Linked DNA regions of Homo sapiens: region 1 is linked to region 2. The links are contacts of gene promoters, found by promoter capture Hi-C in human tissues and cell types (Jung and others, 2019). All regions are on one chromosome and are shown on one strand. The core of a region is centred on a gene start or on the middle of the fragment in contact, and the rest is flanking DNA. Distances in the headings are between cores, read along the strand shown.

Region 1 (4,115 bases), core at 219-2,718, 120 kb before region 2:
TAAGACCTAACTAGATGCTACCTACAAGAGACTCACTAGAGCTTTAAGGGCACATACAAAGTGAAGGGATGTAAGAAGATATTCCATGCAAATGGAACCCTAAATATACAAAATGGTCTTTTACAAAATAGACTTTAAGTAAAATACTGTCGTAAGAGACAAAGGTCATTATATCATGATAAAAGAGTGAATTCATCAAGATATAACCATTGTAAATATATATGCACCCAATACTATAGCAGCTAAATATATAAAACAAATATTAACAGAACTGATGGGAGAAATCAACACAAATACAATAGTATTAGGGGCTTCAATACCCCATTTTCAACAATGGATAAATCATCCAGACAGAAAATCAGTAAGAAAACAGCAGACATAAACAGAAACATTGTCTATAGGTTTCTTAAATAACCTATAGACAAAGTGAACACAAGACATACACAGAACATTCCATCCAACAGCAGCAGAATACATATTCTTCTCAAGTGTACACACAGCATTCTCTAGGATAGATCAAACATTGGGCCACAAAATCAGTCTTAGCAAATTTAAGAAGCTTGAAATCATATTAAGTATCTTTTATAATCAAATCTAGAAGTCAATAATAACAGAAAGACTGGAAAATTCACAAACATGTGGAAATTAAACAATATGCTCCTGAATAACCAATGAGTCAAAGAAATCAAAAGATAACTTTGAAAATATCTTAAGACAAACAAAAATGAAAACACAACATACCGAAATTTAAGGGATGCAGCAAAAGCAGTTCTAAGGAGACAGTTATGGCAATAAATGTCTACATTAAAAAAAAAAGAAAGATCTCACATAAACAACCTAACATTACATCTCAAGGAATGAGAAAAAGAAGAACAAACTAAGACTAAAATTAGTAGAAGAAACAAAATAACAAAATCAGAGCAGAAATAAGTGAAATAGAAAATGGAAAAACAATAGAAAATGTCAATGACACTAAGAGTTTTTTTTTTTTTGAAAAGATAAAGTTAACAAACCTTCAGTGAGACGAAGGAAAAAGGAGAAAAGACTCAAATAAAATGAGAAATGAAAAAGGATATAACAGGTGATATTACAAAACACAAAGGATTCTAAGAGGCTACTATGAACAATTATATCCAAACAAATTGGATAATCTAGAAGAAATCAATAAATTCCTAGAAGCATACAACCTATCAAGATTGAATTATGAAATAGAAAATCTAAACAGACAAATACAAGTAAGGCAATCTAATCAGTTATCAAAAATCTTCTATCAAAAAAAGCCCAGAAATGGATGACTTTACTGGTGAATTCTACCAAACATTTAGAAAAGAATTTACACCAATCTTTCTCAAACAGCTTGAAAAATTATAGAGAAGTGAACATTTTCAAACTCATTTTAATGAGGCCAGCTTTATCCTTATACCAAAGCCAGATAAACACACTACAAGAAAAGAAAATTACAGGCCAATTCTGATAAACATAGATGCAAATATCCTCAACTCAGTGTTTTCAAAAGGCATATTGTGTTGCCTGTATAAAATACCAGCAAAGGGTTATGTAATACATTATGGATGATACTAAAAAAATTAAAAACAGAATGACCATATTATCAAGCAATCCGATTTCAGGGTGTATATCCAAAGAAAATTTAATCACTGTCTTGAAGAAATATCTGTACTTCCATGTTCACTGCAGCATTATTCTCAATAACCAAGTAATGAACACAACCTAAGTGTCCATTGATGAATGAACGGATAAAGAAATTTGATGTACACGCAATTAAATATTAATCAATTTTTATTTGTTATTTATTTTTAGAGACAGGCTTTCATTCTGTCACCCAGGCTGGAGTACAGTGCCATGGTTGTAGCTGATTGTAACCTCAAACTTCTGGGGTCAAGTGATCTTCCTGCCTCAGCAGTCATGTACCACCATGCCTAGCTACTTTATTTATTTATTTATATTTGGTAGATATGAGGTCTTACTATGTTGCCTAGCTGGTTTCAAACTCTTGCCCTCAAGCAATCCTGCAGTCTTAGCCTCCCAAAGGTCTGAAATTATAGGCATGAGCCACTATTCCAGCTCAATTTTTAAAAGGAAGGAAATCCTGTCATTTGCAACAACTAGGATGAACCTGGAGAACATTATGCTAACTGAAGTGTCATACACAGAAAGATAAATACTATGTAATCTCACTTATATGTGAAATCTAAAAAAAAAAAAAATCAATCTCATAGAAACAGAATAGAAGGTTAGGTACTAGATGTTAGGGTGTGGTGGAAATGGGGAGATGTTGGTCAAAGGGTACAAACGTGGCAGTTGTAAGATGAATAAGTTCTAGAGACCTCACGTAAAACATGGTGACTATAGTTAATAATGCCATATTATACACTTGAAATTCTCTTAGAAAGTAGATCTTAAGTATTGTCAGCACAAAAAGGACAAAAGGTAGCTATGTGAGATGATGGCTATGTTAACAAACTTTATTGTGGAAATCATTTAGCAATTTGTATATAGATATCAAAACATCACTTTGTGACTCATATACACCTTTAATACATAAAATTTTTATTTGTCAAGTATACCTCAACAAAGCTGAAGAATATAAAAGAGGGCTTATTATAGGAATGCATGAATGAATAAATGCCCCAAACAAAATTCGCTACAATACTTGATTTAAAATACAGGCTTCATTTATGGACTTTCAGCCTCATTATCATTAAAAAGGTACTTATCTAAAAACTTTTGCATATATTTTTTAAAATAACCATACCATGATTACAGCATACAAGTATATATTGTTCACACTAATAATGCACACTGATCCATCCTCTACCAGCCCCAAAGATAGCCACTATCCTGACGACTAACAATAGAGATTAGTGTCACCTGATTTTTATTAAAAACAATCTGTAGAGTTGTAAAATTCTCCAAATATATAGAGTCATTTACAAATGAGTTTTGACTTTTGTGTGTGTGTGTGTGTGTGTGTGTGTGTGTGTGTGAGACAGAGTCTCACTCTGTTGCCCAGGCTGGAGTGCAGTGGCACAATCTCGGCTCACTGCAACCTCTGCCCCCCGGGTTCAAGCAATTCTCCTGCCTCAGCCTCCTGAGTAGCTGGGATTACAGGCGTGCACCACCACACCTGGCTAATTTTATATTTTTAGTAGAGACAGGTCATGCTGGTCAGGCTGATCTTGAACTCCTGACCTCGTGATCCGCCTGCCTTGGCCTCCCAAAGTGCTGGGCTTACAGGCGTGAGCCACTGTGCCCGGCCAATAAATGTTTTATATATATATATTCTTTCCATTCTTACTTGACTATAGGTTCAAGATATAAAATTTGTTGATTCATTTAATAAGATGATTTTGTATAAGTTCCTTTTGATATGCATACTTTGGGACACATTTTATTTCCTGCCCCAAACTAACCCCCAGAGAAGGATATTAATGTACCAGCAAGTTATTTTGTAAAACATTCATTTTGTGGAGTTATTGCATAAGGTAATCAATCAACTTTGCTTCTTCATAAGGAGTTTTATCTTGAAACTAGCAGCTGTAATTTCCTGGAAAAGATTTTATCACAGACATCTGTCCTATGAAATTAAAGAGGAAGTCATAAAAATATCTTGAAAATACAACTAATATTTTAGTTCTAGGGAATGGTTGTAGGGATCTTTCTGAACAAAGTGTTACTTTATATAGAAATACACAATATTTCAATTAGAAATAATTGATTTAAAGTAGGTAATAAAATTCCTAATTTATGTGAATAACACATGATCTAGACTGCCTTCTTGGTGAAAAATCGTCAGATGCAAAATTCTTGACTAGAGTGACCACTATATGATCCAGTAATAATTATGTTTGAAAAATAATCTAAATTACATGCACAGAGAAAAACAAGGGAATGGAAGTGAAAGAAAAACCAGTTTGGACCATGCAGATGTATGAATTCAAAGAATAATACCTAGGTTTTTGTTTGTTTGTTTATTTGTTCGTTTGTTTTTATTGGCTAACCTTGACTTGAGCTCTTTCTTTCGCAAATATTCACTGATGTGGGCTGTGAGTCAAAACCCAATCTGGTGGTTGGAATTTAAAAGCTCTTGTCCTCAA
Region 2 (4,189 bases), core at 403-2,902:
TAATAAAATATCCCAGATACGGCATGTATTAATTTGATTTGCGTTACACTTCGGGCTGGTAAGGTTCATATGTACACTTAGAAACCGAAAAATGCGGCGAAATGGATGAAGATTATATTGGCACTCTAAGAATGTTTGCAAAATACTGAAATATTGAAAACATGAAATATGACATATTGAAAACATGAAATATGAAATATTGATCTTTACGTGAGTTACAAAAACATTATTTCACGCAGGGTTTCAGCAGTCTGAATGCTTCTTCTCCGGCTTTTCCCCCAATGGAGAATTGGATTCCCTTTTGCCCCGCCCACTCAGTGCTTCCAGATTGCTTGAGAAGGCCAAGGCAGCCGGCTCAGCAGCAGGGAAGCCGGGCTGGGTATGCAGGAGCTATATATAGCTCCACCTTGGAGATGTGCACACACAAGCACACGTACGAATACCCATGCCCGGTTTGGCATGAAAATAAATAAATAAATAAGGAAAGGTCGCAGCTATCCGCTTTCCCTCTTTCCCATCATCCCAATTTTTCAGGAATTTTCAAAGCAGGGTGTCATCAGTCCCAGAGGGTGATGCAGCGTCGGATCTCTCTGCAATTCTTCTGCCTACTGCTCCCAGCAATCTGACTCCTGCAGGAACCGGCACTGGGCCAACACCTACTACCCAGATGCGGTCACCTAGGGAGGCAGCCTCGCAGCCGCTCGGAGCCCATCCGGGCACAATCACTTGACTCCCTGGAAATCCCTGAAGCCAAATCCACCTTTCAGAAACTAGGTGTGAAGGTGGTTCCCGTAGACAGCGCCAGGCTAGGAGGGAAGGGGCCGTGGCTCCGCGGTCTCTCCCTCCCACCTGCCGCAGATCGTGGAGAAGGGCCGGTGCCTTCTCAACGGAGACGTAATTAATCGGAACGTGCCCTTCGAGTTGCAGGGATTCTTCCCCACCCCCATCTCCTGAAGGGAGCTAGATCTTAACAGAGGGGTCAGGGGACAAACAAGTCGCTTCCTCCCCTCTCCGCAACCGCTCCCAGGTTTTCCGGGATGCGCTAGCCAGGCGCCCAGGTGGGATGGGAAAGATGAGCAGGTGCGGGCCGGCGTCGGGAGAAAAAGACCTGCAGGCCCCGGGCTGCCGACCTCTCTGCTTCCCCACCCCTCCCCTGCCGAGGCGATATGGCATCCCTGGGGCGAGTTCCCGGCGCTGGCGGCGGCAGCCTCCGAAAGGAAAGTTGACGAGACACAGACCCCGAGCTCGGAGCCCTCTTCTAGGGCACTGCCGTCCTGCCTTGCCCGGCACCCCAGGGCTCCGGCATCCCGCACCCCTGCTTCCCCGCACCCCAGCCACCTCCGCCCCAGTCCTTCCCGCGCCGCACGGCGAGAGCTGCAGGGACCACAGGAGATTTGGGGGTGACGAGGGCTGGGCGGGGCTGGGGGAAGGGAAGCAACAGCATGGAAATGCGCATTCTTTATTTTATCTGCAAAGAAGGAAAAGTCCAGCTTCCTACCTGTTCCCTGCTCCTGCTCGCCTCGGTGCGGCACAGCTGGACCATACCCTACAGGTTTCCCACTTCCGCTGCAAACACCTGGGAGCGCATCTCCCCACCGGCGCCCCTCCTCGCCTCGGCGGAGCCCACCCTGGCTACTTGACAGCAGAAGCCCGGCCTTTTAGGGCGGTTATTGGGGCAGCAGGGAAAGTGGGGCGGGGACCACAGGGAAACCCGCTTCTCTGATTGGACAACAGGGATATCACTCTCACCCCCAGGACCAGCGCAGGCTGCAGACTTGGGTAGCTGCTAAACCCAACTGCAAAGGGTCTCTGCAGTGCCTGAAACCCAAACCTGCTGCTACCGGATCAAGGACCCTTGCTGGAGAGAAACTGGTTTGATGACTTGTCATTTGGGGCCCCAAGAGGGAGGGAGGGTCCAGGCATAACTAGACACCCAGCACTTTCCTGAAGCTTCCCTGAAGGGACCATCTGCTCCGGGAGATTTGTCAGGCGAAAATACCAAGCCAGCGCCTCATAGAGAAGAATGAGCTTCGATTAGGAAATAATAAGATACTTATGTGGGAAAAAATACACACACAGAAAGGAAAATAAAACGATGTGAGGTTTTTTTTTAAAGTTTCCATTTTTGTCCAGATGTAACATGGCAGTTTTTCTTGAGAAAAGACGGAATTGCTTAGTCTGTAATGCAGAAGACCCCCTAATATTCCCTGGTAGAAACAGTGTTTTAAACGGGAAAGCACTGCATAATAACCTCTCAAAAAAAAAAAAAGGGTAAAAGAAATTAAGGCCAAACTGCATGAGAGATTTGCTTTGGGGCAGTTCAGTTTGTGGCAAAAGTCTTAAAATAATCACCATTAGACTGATTGATAATTAAGTGATCTGTTACTTTTCTATTGATAGTAGTTTATCATTTCTTTAGTACTCAGACACTGAGAGGATGTTTATGCCCCCAAACCTAAGTGATCCCAAGCCTGCCTTTTATGTGAAGGGAACAGGGTAAAATAACTTTGTGTCCAGTTGCCATCTCTGCCATTTATTCAGGTGGAATCTGGAAATTTTGGAATTCAAGAGACTCCTTAAATGAAGGAACGTGCTAGAACTACCACGTGTAAAACTGGGAGTGTAGGGTGTCTTAGTATATAGTACCATGTGAGGAATCAAGTTGCCTTCTGCCTGCAAATAGCCACATTCTTCTTCTATCTGAATTAAGTAGCCATCTTAAGTGCTGAGCATAAGACACAACTCTCATTCTCACAGAGCTTCAAAGAGCTTATGACAGGCTTGGGACACTGGACAACTGTTAGAGAAGATGACATTGCTATTAATAAATATAGACTCTACTTAGTGGTTACGGTTGTTATTACTATCATCAGGTAAGGCTCTTCATAATGTTTTCTTCATAATACTGAAGGAATCCGATTAATGCATTTGAAGGTGGGGGCCGGGCGAGGTGGCTCATGCCTGTAATCCCAGCACTTTGGCAGGCGAGGCAGGCGGATCACAAGGTCAGGAGATCGAGACCATCCTGGCTAACACGGTGAAACCTCGTCTCTACTCAAAAAAAAAAAAAAAAAAAAAAATACAAAAAATACAAAAAATTAGCCGGGCATGGTGTTGGGCGCCTGCAGTCCCAGCTACTCAGAAAGCTGAGGCAGGAGAATGGCGTGAACCCAGGAGGCGGAGTTTGCAGTGAGCGGAGATTGCGCCACCGCACTCCAGCCTGGGCGACAGAGCGAGACTCCGCCTCAAAAAATAAAATAAAATAAAATAAAATAAAATAAAATAAAATAAAATAAAATAAAATAAAATAAAATAAAATAATAAAATAAAATAAAATAATGCATTTGAAGGTGGGAAGGGACCCTGGAGAAAATTTACAGTGAACAAATAGATATTATTTGTGTGGTGACAACCATCTTAACACTGAATGGAAATGACTAAATATGCCGTGGCAAAATTTCAGAACCCCTGTGTCATTTCTTACACAATACTCCTATTAGTCATGCACCTCTGTCCCAGGTACTCACACCAGTTATTCCATTGGATTGGCCAAATCATTCATGAATTACTGAGTACTTTTTCAATGCCATACCCTGTGTTAGGTGCTACAGAACTAAAGCAGAATAATGTATTGGACACATTAAAGATGATCTCAGGAAGCAATTACAATAGTAATATTTCTAAGGAATGTGTGTTTGCAACACGAACATCTTTTGATTCCTAAGCATAAATTATTTTGAGTCAAAATGAGCTTCAACATACTCTCCTCTAGAGGTAATCAGAGGAGAAGAAAAAGTATCAAAGAAAATACCTAAATATTGAAGACAACACAAGAATTGAAATTGGTAATGAAAAGAAAACTAAAGACATCTCTGCTATCTGCGTTCTTTCATTGCTTCACTCATTCATTCCTTCAACAAATATTACTATTATAAATGTGATGGTGAATAAAATAGGCAAGCTCTCATGGAACACATTCTTTATTCTTCAAGCAGACAATGTTACTTTGTGCATTTACTGTGATCTAATTAGCAGCTTTGTGTGTACATGCAAACACAACTCTGGAACAGTATTAAGATAATTTCTCTCTGGATCAGGCATCTCACACATTTTCAAGTAAAACAGAGCATTTTCAGGTTATTGCTTATTATCTCAAAGAGAAAAACCTGTACATATGTTCCCACAATAC

What was found. Contacts are between HindIII fragments. The study calls those that stand out against the background at their distance.
Region 1: a contact is called between a fragment that was not itself captured here and the fragment with the promoter of CNTN1 in region 2, in 5 of the 25 tissues and cell types used here (bladder, dorsolateral prefrontal cortex, hippocampus and 2 more).

The regions. Positions count from the first base shown.
Region 1 is chr12:40,808,705-40,812,819 of GRCh38, reverse strand. The region is part of intron 1 of CNTN1 (contactin 1); the gene reads right to left. Among named protein-coding and RNA genes, the nearest start is that of CNTN1, 120 kb to the right of the region's middle. The HindIII fragment of the contact is 7,484 bases long and covers 1-4,115 here.
Region 2 is chr12:40,689,902-40,694,090 of GRCh38, reverse strand. It overlaps CNTN1 (contactin 1), which reads right to left and starts at 1,652. Exons shown (of 24, transcript NM_001843.4): 1 at 1,499-1,652. The HindIII fragment of the contact is 18,580 bases long and covers 1-3,903 here.